2 separate regions of the Homo sapiens genome follow, and region 1 is linked to region 2. Evidence: promoter capture Hi-C in 16 types of primary human blood cells and fetal thymus (Javierre and others, 2016). All regions are on one chromosome and are shown on one strand. Each heading gives the region's core, a stretch centred on a gene start or on the middle of the fragment in contact. The rest is flanking DNA. Distances are from core to core; before and after follow the strand shown.

Region 1 (6,491 bases), core at 1,190-3,689, 260 kb after region 2:
GCAGTGAGTTGAGATCACGCCACTGCACTCCAGCCTGGGCAAAAAGAGCAAAACTCCATTTCAAAAAAAAAAAAAAAAAAAAAAAAGAGTATTCATGTTATTAAATACTCTTTGAAGATAGTTTAAAGACCATAAAACATTCTACCATGTGGATTTATTATTCTCTATTAGATATATATGCATTTTTAATTATTCACTATTATAAAGAATGCTGTGATAAACATTTTTGTACAAAGACCTTGCCCTTAATTTCTATTTCCTAAGGCTAGACTCCAGAAAGGGGATTAATGGAACCCCTAAAGACTTTTTTAGAAAGGTACCTTATATGTGTTACCAGGTCTTAAAATTTTCACTGGTTACAAAACAAAACATGTTTTTCCCAAAGACATTTATAATAATTAATACAAAAAAACTAGCAGCCTAGTAATAGCTTTAGAAGTATTTTCATGTAAAAAAAGGGGAAGAGGCATGCTCCGGTGAATGGGGATATTAATGAAACATGATTGGCCCCTATGTGGATAATTGTTGAAGCAACTGCTGGGTATATAGTTCTATTTTTGTAAAGTTTTGAAAGTGTTCATGATAGTAAGTTTTAAGTCCCAACTGAGAATGAAAAATATCTACAGGGACTACAAGTAATTGTTAATAAGTCCTCAAACAAGAGAAATAGTTCTATTTCTACTGCCTTATGCAAGACAAAATGCTAATTAATTTTTATCTCCCTGACCAAATGAAACATGTTTCTGCAGCCAGGGTGAATCATTAAGTTCATTGCTAACTTGCTCCATACATAACTGAAGGGAAGGATTAATAAGCATTTCAAGCTCTTTATTTGCATTTGAAGGAAAGAGTCAAACAATAACCTCTGAAGCATAAAAATAGTTCAGACCTAGTTATTAAAGTCTAGTCAACATTTATTCATTTACCAAGTATTTAAGACCTTAGTTAGAGTCTGTTTATGTTTGACTATGTTAGCTTGGGGCTAGGAAGATGTTAGCACCTAGAAATGTTTATGAAATAGTTTCAATCCGTTCATTCCATAGTTTAAAAAAATAAAAACAAAAGTTAATAATACTGACAGATGTCTGGAGAGTTCTGATTATGTACAATACACCAAGGGTATTAAATAAGGCACTCAGAAGTTTGCCTCATGAGAAAACATAAAAACAGACAATGTGTCTGTACCTCTCATCAAATTCTGCCTTGCATTCCAAGTATGCTTGCACTTCCCACTCCACACATCTGGTCCCACATCCCCACTTTCAGTGCATCCCCCATTTCAGTGCAGGATCTTTAGGGGTGGCGAGTACCTTGCTAAACTATGTCCTTTGCAGGGTTTAACACAGTGGTAGGGGATGCTCATAGGAAAGGTACAATAAATATTTACTAACTGGGATAAAATACTCAATTTTTAAAATAATAGGGGAAAAAGTAACTTCATTTATTGATATGCTAAAAGGTTTATATAAAATCCACTAAAAAAATACAGCATAGTTTCCACCAATCACTACATCACATTCTCTATCATGCTGACCTTGGATGGACAACTTATAAAGAAAAATGTGAGTTATTTGATTAGCCTCTGGTCAACCCTATTCCTTGAACAGCAGTGTCTACAAAGCTATTCTAAGCATTCCAATTTACCCTTGAAACAGATTGTATTACTACTGCAGTATTTCTATATGGTATTAGCAGCCTACATGCTTGGTTTTGCTGATTTACAGGACTTTGTAGAAAAAAAAAAGGAGCTGGGCATGGTGGCTCATGCCTGTAATCCTAGCACTTTGAGAGGCAAAGGCAGGCGGATCATTTGAGGCCAGGAGTTCAAGATCAGCCTGGCCAATATGGTGAAACCCTAACTCTCCTAAAAATACAAAAATTAGCTGGGCGTGGGGGTGGGCACCTATAATCTCAGCTACCTGGAAGGCTGAGGCAGGACAATCACTTGAACCCAGGAGGCAGAGGTTACAGTAAGCAGAGATCATGCCACTGCACTCCAGCCTGGGCGACAGAGTGAGACTCCATCTCAAAAAAAAAAAAAAAAAAAAAGAGAAAGAAAGGAAAAAAAGAGAGAAGGAAGGGAAAGAGGACATAGAGAAAAACTGGCTATCTTTATGAAAATGACTTTGAAAGTGAATTCTAGTTTACATTTTCTTTTTTTCCCTCCCTCATTGTCAGATTGTTAGCTGCGGCTGATCGGAGAGTGATTAGCAACACTCTGCTCCTTTCTCTTAGCACAGGGCCTGGTACATAGCAATTCCTTAATAAACATTTCCTACATGAACAAATTAGAGAGATGACGCACCTGAATAGGAAAGATAAGGCCTAAGAGTATGTGAGATACAGTAAGTTCCTAAACTAGGATAATGAGAGTGAAACGTAAGAAATAAAACAGAAGGAAAGTCGGTAAGACTTGAACAGCCACAGAATATAAGAAAATTGGTTTATAGGGTGATGAGCCGGTCATGCTTTCTAACCCTGAACCTTAATTTTGAAATCCCAGGCCAGGCACAGTGGCTCACTCCTATAATCCCCGCACTTTGGGAGCCTAAGGCAGGTGAGGTAGGCTCCCATTTGAGGTAGGGAGTTCGAGACCAGCCTGGCCAACATGGTGAAACCCCATATCTACCAAAAATACAAAAAAAATCAGCTGGGTGTTGTGGTGCACGCCGGTAATCCCAGCTACTCAGGAGGCTGAGGCAGAAGAATCACTTGAACCTGGGAAGCGGAGGCTGCAGTGAGCTGAGATCGTGCCACTACACTCTCCAGCCTAGGTGACAGAGCGAGACTCTGTCAAAAAAGAAAAAAAATTTGAAGTACTGAAGTTGGAGGTAAAAATATACTTTTAATATTCACTTGATATGCTAAGGAAAATGGAGTTTTAAATTTCAGAGTCCTCCTACCAAAAATCCAGACATCCTTAACTTAAATGTTATCATGTGGTTTCTCTGACAATAGAATTAGTTACTCTGGGAAAATCACATAGCAATTGAACATTACTCTGAACATTTTCCTGCCCTCAATCAACATATTTTATGTGCTACTGCCATCTACAGTTAAAAAAAGCCAAGACAGCATATGTATTCTAAAGGGAAAAAAAATTACAAAATTATAAAGTGGTATATTAAGAGATTTCACTATTTGATGGAATTTTGGTTTTCACTATAAGAAGCATGCAGTTTTTACTCTTCTAAAATAAGACAGCCATTAGATTATCTTATACAGTTGACCCTTGAACAACATGGGCTTGAACTGGGCAGGTCCACTTATACATGGATTTTCTTCCACTTCTGCCACCCTTGAGACAGCCAGACCAACTCCTCCCTCTTTCTCCTCCGCAGCCTGCTCAACGTGAAGACGTCGAGGATGAAGACTTTTATGATAATCCACTTCCATTTAATGAATTATAAATGTATTTTCCTAATGATTTTCTTTGTAATATTTTTCCCTAGGTTACTTTATTGTAAGAATACAGTATACAATACATATTAACATATGAAATAACATTAATATAACATAAAATGTGTTATTTGATTATTTATGTTATAGTAAGGCTTCTAGTCAATAATAAGGTATTAATAGTTACATTTTGGGGGAGTCAAAAGCTACCCATGGATTTGTGACTGCACAGGGGCTGTGCCCTTATCCCTTGCATTGGTCAAAGGTCAACTGTATAAATAATCTTAAGATCTATAACATATAACCATAAGACAGCCTGTAAGAAAAGGGCAAGTATCTCAAACTAAAATAGGTACTGCTAAACTAGTTTCCATAACCACACAAAACTTTTCATGGGGCCTTTTGAAATTTCTATCTACCATTAAGATTTGGCTTCCAAAAGACATGTAAAGTTCAAAGGGCAAGCACAAAAAGAAGGCTAAGAAGCAAATGGGTGAGTTTGTAATGCAAGAATTCCTTTTTTTTTTTTTTTTGAGACGGAGTCTGGCTCTGTTGCCTAGGCTGGAGTGCAGTGGCGTGATCTCAGCTCACTGCAAGCTCCGCCTCCCGGGTTCATGCCATTCTCCTGCCTCAGCCTCCTGAGTAGCTGGGACTACAGGCGCCTGCCACCACGCCCGGCTAATTTTTTGTACTTTTAGTAGAGACGGGGTTTCACCTTGTTAGCCAGGATGGTCTCGATCTCCTGACCTCGTGATCTGCCTGCCTGAGCCTCCCAAAGTGCTGGGATTACAGGCGTGAGCCACCACGCCCAGCCTAATCCAAGAATTCTTTAACTAAACAAAAACTTTTTTAAAAATCATGGATGAGGGAGTTAGAGGAGAAGCGATAAATGGCTGTAACTGGGTGTCTTAGTCCATTCAGGCTACCATAACAAACCACCTTAGACTGGGTAATTAATTAATTTTCTTTAAAGTCTTCTGCAAGGAGTACAAAACTGGGTAATTTACAAACCACAGAAATTTATTGCTCACTGTTCTGGAGGTTGCTGAGAGGTCCAAAATGAAAGTGCCGGCAGATTCAGTGCCTGGTGAGGGTTTATTCTCTGCTTCAAAGATGATGCCTTCTGGTTGCATCCTAATAGCAGAAAGGGTCCAGGGTGCTCCCTTCAACCTCTTTTATAAGGGCACTAATTCCACTCATAAGGGTGAAGCCCTCATGACTTCATCACTTCCCAAAAGGCCCCGCCTCTTAATACCACCACAGTAGGGATTAGGTTTCAACATGAATTTTTGGAGGAACCCATTCAAACCACAGCATCCAGTTCCTGGCCCTCTAAAATTCATGTCTATTTCACAGGCAAAATACATTCATTTCATTCCAATAGTCTCACAAGTCTTAACTCCTTCCCAAAATCAGATATGGGTAAGACTCAAAGGTGCAATTCATCCTGAGGCAAATTCCCCTCCAGCTGTGAGTCTGTGAAATCCAACCTGTTTCCAAAATGCAATGATGGGACAGGCACAGAACATGCATTCCCATTCCAAAAGGGAGAAAATAGAAAAGAAGAAAGGGATAATAGGTCCCAACCAATACAAAACCCAACAGGGCAAACATTAACTTTTAAGGCTTCAGAATAATCTTCGACTTGATATCCTGCCTTCTGGACACACTGGAGCAGGAGTTGGGCCCCCAGGGTACCAGGGGCCCCCACCCCCATGACTTTATTGGGGGCAGCCCATGCTGCAGTTCTCCTGGGTTAGAGTTTGAGTCTTCTGCATGTGGCTCTCCCAGGCTGGAGTTGCATGCTGGAAGCTCTACTAGACTAGGGCCTCAGGGAGCAACCCCGCGCACCTCAGCTCCACCAAGCTTTGCCCTGGTGAGGGTTCCCAATGGTGGCCTCACCTCTGTAGCAATTCTCTGCCAGGATCTGCTAAGGCTCTCCAGGGCATCTTTTGAAATCTAGGTGGAAGTTATCATACCCCGCAGCTTGTACACTCTGCACCCACTGGAGATGGCATCACTCAGACACTGCCAAGGTTCACCACCTGTGCCCTCTAGAGGAGCAGCCACTATACTTGGGCCTACTGGAGCCACACCTGGAATGGCTAAGGAGCACTGTGCCAAAATTCGGGGAGCAGACTTGACACAGTGCCAGGAAGGGATTGCCAGGGTTTCATTAGCGCCTGAAGCCCCTCTTTTGATAGTTCTGTCCCCCATGCCTTGGCACTCTGGGCCTGTGATGGGAGGAGCAGCACCGGTAATCACTGAAATGCTATGGGTTTATTCTTCCATTGTTTTGATGAACAACACCAAGCTTCCACCCATGCACGCTAATCTCCTTATCAAAAGGTGACTAGGCCACTCTTTTGGTGTTCTCTCCAAAACATGCTTTTTTATTCTTTACATGGCCAAGCTGAGAATTTCCCAAATCTTCACTTCTGATGATAAATTATATCTTTAATTCATTTCTCTCTTCTCACATTTTACTATAAACAGCCAAGAGAAGCCATGTTGATCCCTAAACACTTTGCTTAGAGATTTCTTTGACCAAATATCCAATTTCACGGCTCCTAAGTTCCTCCTTCCACAAAACATTAAAACAGGAAAACAATTCAGTGAAGTCCCTTGCCACTTTTTTGGTTGTTGTTTAGTTCTTTTATTTTTTTGAGATAGAGTCTTACTCTGTCAGGGTCACTACAGCCTTGGACTCTTGGGCCCAAGTGATCCTCTCTCCTTAGTCTCCTGAGTGGCTAGGTGCCACCATGCCTGGTTTTTTTTTTTTTTTTTTGTCTGAGACAAAGTCTCGCTCTGTTGCCCAGGCTGGAGTGCAGTGGTGCAATCTCTGCTCACTGCAACCTCAGCCTCCCAGATTCGAGTGATCTTCCTGCCTCAGCCTCCCAAGTAGCTGGGATTACAGGCACCCGCCACCATGTCCGGCTAATTTTTGTATTTTTAGTAGAGACAGGGTTTCACCATGTGGGCCAGGCTGTTCTCGAACTCCTGACCTCAAGTGATCTGCCAGCCTTGGCCTCCCAAAGTGCTGGGATTACAGGTATAAGCCACTGCACCCGGCCTAGCTAATTTTTTATTTT
Region 2 (6,060 bases), core at 2,526-5,025:
TTCTGAAATATTCTACATCACTTCTTTTTTTACATCCGAAATTGATTTACGTCACACAATTGATGATTGATGTCTACAATTAATGAAATATAATGTTGGGAGGATTTAAGGAATTCTCCAACAAAGGCTGATTGCCTTGGTCACATGTACGCTTTCAGTATGGGGTGTGTGTGTGTGTGTGTGTGTGTTGGGGGAGTGGGGTGGCAGGACTAATGATTTCCGGCCATAGCACCTTCACCTAAGACCAAGAGAGGCAAATGAACTGGAGGGTTCCATGTGACCAAAGAAGACCAGAAAATGCTCAGGGACCTATGGACATAAACACAATTATTTCCAAGAAAAAAGATGAGCCATAACTCTTGTCTGACAAGTGTGATGGAGAGCAGACTTGCTTAGAAGGACATTCCCAGGAGGAGGCAGCTTATACATTTCGGGCTAGCTTTGATCTCTAGCCTCTAGGAACAATTTTCTTGCTTTGTCATTATGGTTCCAAACATTGGTCCTTTTGGGGAAACTACTCCAGCTCAACAAGCAAATGTCATCAGGTTTGTTTTTGTTTTTATTTCTTTCCCTAGTACAGGAAAGAAGTCCAGAATATGCCACTATAGCATAAGGATTATTTTGAGCTAAAGGCATTTGAGAATCAGTGGATGCAGGAAGAGTTGTTTTATTTTATTTTAATTTTTTCCCTGAACTTACTTGCCTCTCAAAAGAATTCAACTGTCTTAAATTCCTTCCCAGCAATTTCAAAACCAGGGAAGATTGACCCTATCTTTAGAAACAGGAAGTTGGTACTGGGATAATAAATCACCTAATAGACTTTGTCACAAAACTATCATATCTCCCATCTATTCTCCCAAAGGCCTGTTTATCTTTTCTGAAAGTTTTTTCCCAGAAGTGCCCTTTCTCCTTCTCCCTTTCCTTTATTTAGACAGTATATAAGCCCCAAATTCTAATTGCTCCTTGAGTCATAATTTTCTGTGAACTCTGACTGCTTCAGTGAATAAAAATCTATCTTTTCTCCTGCTAAGCTGTGTTTTGTTGGTTTAATTTGCAATCCCCCGAATACTGAACCTAAGAGGGTAGAGTGAAAGTTTTACCTCCCTGGCAACAGGAAAACTTATTTTGTTAAAGATGAATGGCATAGAAGGGGGAAATGATGGTTGGAGTGAGGACCAAAGAAATAACAAAAATGTCCACTTGTACTGAGACAAGTTTTTCCTAAATATTTATTAGTTAGTCCTCAAATATTTTGCTTAAGAGAAGTCCTCAAAATGAAAGAAACTACGTCTTCAATGTACTGAGCAGAAGGAAAGGAGACTGTGCAGCTGAGGAAGCCAGGCCTGAAAAATAAGTGTGGGTTGTGTCACCACACACCAAGGACTGGTGAGAGGAACAATGCACAGTGGTGGAGTGGGAACTGAGCAGGCCATGAGAAGGACAGATATTTGTTTTGCTGCATTCAAGGCCACCTATAGTTCCTGCCCTTTGGGTGCTCATGATGGCAGACAAGCCCTCATGAAGGTGAACCAAAGGAAGGTAATCACAGGGGACCCGTTGGCCCCACCACGCCTGAACAGCTGCTGCAGCCTGAACTTTCTGCCTCACTCCTGCTTTCCTTTCTCCCCATGCATGCTTGCTTGTTGCACTGAACTCTGGCGCATCACTCATTCCTGTTCTTTTTGTCAGGAGAAAAAGTTCTCCTGACATGCAGTGTGTCAAAACTGTACTCATCTCCTCCACCTGCCTTCCCACTTCCCGCCCCTATGCTCCCTCCTGGCTTCTATTTTAAATTTCATTGCAGCAGACACCTCTCTCCAGATTTCATGCCTCAGCAAGGGCACATACCATTCCTCCAGCGAAACCATTCTTTTCCTTTTCACCATTTCATCCTTTTGACTTTCAAACTTCTCACCAACTGGGTGCGTTTTATCCTCCTCTGGTGCCAGCCTTCCTTCTTTGTTAGATACCTAGCATTTACAGCCATCTCTAGGCAGATGTGTGGTCGTTCAGTAAGAAGAGAACACATGTTTTGTGTGCTCACTCCAATGGGTGTCTGGCTTATAAAGTAGGTGTGGTCCAATTCCTGTCTGCTGCCACCATTGTGCCCTGCTCTGGCCAACAGCTCAGAGAGGTTTGCTCTCTCCACTGGCCCTGAAGACCTCCCATGTTCCCCCAGTTCAAACTTCACCTCTCTCATGAGGCTTTCCCTCACTGCATCCTCTACCTCTCTCATGAGGCTTTCCCTCACTGCATCCTCTACTCTCTCATGAGGCTTTCCCTCACTGCATCCTCTACCTCTCTCATGAGGCTTTCCCTCACTGCATCCTGTACCCTCACAGCCCTTAACACACCACTCAACAAATACGCATTTGCATCTAACCAAATGTGACCCTGTGTCCATATTTATGTTTCTGTATATTAATGCATTCTTGTTTCCCCTGCCAGGCTCCATTAGTCTGGTTAGCTTTTGCCCAGGTATCAGGAAATGAGGGGATGGGGAGAGGCTCAGAATCCAAACTTGACAGAGTAGCTGTCCACCACTAGGTGATGGTGGGGTCAGGCATCTCCTTAGGCTGGCTGTGCTTCTGTTTTCTTTTCAATGGAGATACCGGCTTTCTTGGAAACACATGTGATGGTGGGCTAGCCGTAGAAGCACTACTATAATAACGATGTGATCTTTGTCATTTCACTTCTTCAGACCTCATTAGTCCTACATATAAAAAGAGGAAGTTAAACTAGCTCAAATGTACTGAGCAGAAGGAATGGAGACTGTGCAGCTGAGGGAGCGGGGCCTGAAAAATAAGTGTGGGTTGTGTCGCCACACACCGGGACTCCTGGGATCCCGACCTCTTTTAGCGGTCAAAAGAGGGCAAACTAGTTGCCTAACAATATTTAGAGCTATTTCTCTCTTTTCACTCTCATTCTACGAGTGTACACCGGAGTTTCTAGCAACTACATGGTATGTGAAGTCATCCCTCTAATGATAACCTGTAATGAGGTTACTACTGTGATTTTTAATGAATACATTTTAAAATGTTTTAATTTCTTCAAAAGCAAACATTAATCTCTACATATGTGTGTATACATATACAGGAAATGTATGTATATATGAATATACATATATTCATTGTATATGTGTATATATATTCATACATAATATGTGTGTGTGTATATATATATATATTTACACATTTCCTACATAAATAAAAGTTCTTTAAGGTCCTAATAATTTTTAAGTGAAAAGGAGTCCTGGGACCAAAAAGTTTTGAGAATCACTGAACCAGATTTCTAGATCTTTAAGATCATTTATTCACTCAACAAATAATTGTGCCTCCTGTGGCCAGGCATTTTGCAGATACGGAGGATAATGTGGTGATAGCAACATGTTTCCTGCTCTGATAGAGTTTTACATTTGGGAGGGAAGAGACAAACGAATAAATTAACAAGATAATTTCTGAGAGCAGTAGGTTTAATGAAGCCGTAAAGCAGGACACATATCCCTGCACAATCTGTGCGCCTGCTCAGACGTAACACCCCGCAGCGCAGCAGGCAGATTCAGCGGCGTCGCCCCATAAGGGCCCGAGCCCTCTCAGTTGGCCTAGGACGGCGAGGGCGGGGCCTGCCCGCCCCCCTGGCGCTGGCGTCAGGTGACGTCACTGTGCCGCGCCAGCCAATCGTGGGCAGCCGGGGTCTAGGCACCACGGTGGCTGGCGGCCTGCGGGCGGCGCTGTGGCCCGTCGGGCGGCTCCACAGAGCCGCCCTAGCCTTCCGCCTTCCCCAAGCCAACGTCTCCGCCGTCGGCTCCGCGGCGCCGCCATGGCCGACGTGGAAGACGGAGAGGAAACCTGCGCCCTGGCCTCTCACTCCGGGAGCTCAGGCTCCAAGTCGGGAGGCGACAAGATGTTCTCCCTCAAGAAGTGGAACGCGGTGGCCATGTGGAGCTGGGACGTGGAGTGCGATACGTGCGCCATCTGCAGGGTCCAGGTGATGGGTAAGCGCTGCACGCGAGTCCAGGGCCGCCCTGCGGCCTCCGGGAGCCGACCTCGGGGTTGGGAAGGGACGGGCGTCCGTCAGAAGCCTCGGAAAGTGCCCTGCCTGGGAGAGTGGGTGGAGGTCGCCCTGCCCCGGCGCCGGAGGAACGCGGAGCCACGCTCCTGCTGCGGCTCCTGAGGGCTGCGGCCGCCGCCTGGGGCTGCGGGGTTGTGCAACAGGCGCCCTGCGCCGGGTGGTTGGTGTTCTAGGGAGAGAGACGGGCAATAAACGGAGTTAAACAAGGTAATTTCAGGTAGTGATGGGTGTGACCAAGAAAGTAAAACCGGGTGATTGTTGGGAACTAGCAGGAAACACTTCGGTTTGTGTGTCCAGCCCCAGCCCCACCTCTAAAAGCTCAACACAAGGTGGTCAGGGTAAAGGCCGTGATTCAGCAGTGAACTTTAATAGTCTTGGTCACCACCAAAGTGATGCTCCAGAGTCATCTTCCACAAAACGACACCCTTAGTTCTCCTCGAGGGACGCAGGAAAGTGTTCATAGCCATTGCATTTCCGGATTAGCTTACCGCCGCTCTTCGAATGGCTTTTAAATCTGGATTGATTTAAGACGGGTCAGATAGCACTAGCGTGGCTTGAAGGGAACAGTGTGGTTCAAGAATATCTAAGTTTCATGGAAGCTGAAGAATTGTAAGCCCTTTTTTCAGAAACGTAAAACTTCACCTCCATCACACCCCCCTCTCCATATTGGATGCCATTTCCTGGAGAAGATACTGTGCTGCTCTGAGTCATGCCTTTGTGGAGAACCCTCTTACAAATATGTCTTCTTTCTGTGATATTTTGAGTTAAAATATTAGACCAAGTGAAACTTTTCAGAACAGCTTAATCTTGTTATATTTTATATGGTTCTAAGAACTCAGACCACTTTGAAAAGCAGGTGCTATTTAAATGCAAGTTGTATTTTCAGATAGGGCATTTAAAATTACTATGAGACCCTCTTCAGTGGAATTCTTTATTGAGGGTAGTTAAAGAAAACGGACATTTCTATCGTTTGAAAACTGTGACTTGTCTTGAAAAATGAGAGAATTGGAGAACATACAGAGAATTGCTCACCTTAAGGGGGGTGAGACTGTAAACATACCAGAATCAAGAGATTTCGCAGTTTATGCTCTTTTGTCTTTTATTCCTAAGGGCTTGTTTCAAAGAGGATTTACAACAATTGGATTCAGATATTTTTATCTTTCTCTTTTGAAAGACCTTGATATTAGACATGACCCACTTATTTTACATGGATCACTTGAGCCCAGGAGTTTGAGACCAGCCTAGGCAACATCGCAGGACCCTGTCTGTACAATTAAAAATTAAAATAAAAAGCTGACCAGGCATGGTGGCCTCCAGCTACTCTGGAGGCTGAGGTGGGAGGATCCCTTGAGCCCAGGAGGTCGAGGCTACAGTGAGCCTTGTTCCTGCCACTGCCACTGCCACTATACTCCAGCTTGGGTGACAGAATGAGACCCTGTCTCAGCAACAAACAAACAAAACATATGAGGCTTTAAAAGTATCTAGTTTATTTGCCAGCAATACAGCTGCCCCTACCCCCACTTAGGAATCATAATTTCTAGTTTGGGAAGCATTTTTAACTGATCCAGGAGACTCTTTTTTTTTTTTTTTAAGACAAGTTTCGCTAAACATTTTATCTCCTAAATAAATTTCCTTTAGTTTAAAGGAAACTAAGCTTTCACTTAGTTCCTTTCCAGTTTAAAAATAATGTTCCCAAAGGGTATTTTCAAAAGATTTGTCTCCCAAAAAGCTATTTCCTCCCCAAAGGAAAAACATTTAAAGAGTAAGTGGAAATGTATAACCTGAAATAATGATTGAAACTTTGCAACAAATAAACTTTACTGAGAGATTTTAATGTAGGTCAAAGTATAGACTATAAATGACACATTTCATCATAAACTTTCTAATTATAGCAAGTATTCTGCTACTACAGGATCAGTCTTGCATATTTACAACAGCTGTACTTTGGGTTCAGGAAATTATTCTAGGCTAGACCTTTGTATTTTGTTT

What was found. Contacts are between HindIII fragments. The CHiCAGO score rates a contact against its expected background, and 5 or more counts as called.
Region 1: a contact is called between a fragment that was not itself captured here and the fragment with the promoter of RNF7 in region 2, in 1 of 17 cell types (M0 macrophages). The highest score is 5.4, in M0 macrophages.

What each region holds. Positions count from the first base shown.
Region 1 is chr3:141,995,822-142,002,312 of GRCh38, forward strand. All of the region lies in intron 4 of TFDP2 (transcription factor Dp-2), which reads right to left. Among named protein-coding and RNA genes, the nearest start is that of ATP1B3, 120 kb to the left of the region's middle. RefSeq lists a silencer at 4,952-5,145. The HindIII fragment of the contact is 5,648 bases long and covers 1-5,263 here.
Region 2 is chr3:141,734,523-141,740,582 of GRCh38, forward strand. It overlaps RNF7 (ring finger protein 7), which reads left to right and starts at 3,776. Exons shown (of 3, transcript NM_014245.5): 1 at 3,776-3,994. The coding sequence starts at 3,820. RefSeq lists enhancers at 3,319-3,368, 3,409-3,458, 3,569-4,248, 3,809-4,048, 4,249-4,927 and silencers at 3,549-3,808, 4,069-4,248. The HindIII fragment of the contact is 15,473 bases long and covers 1-5,723 here.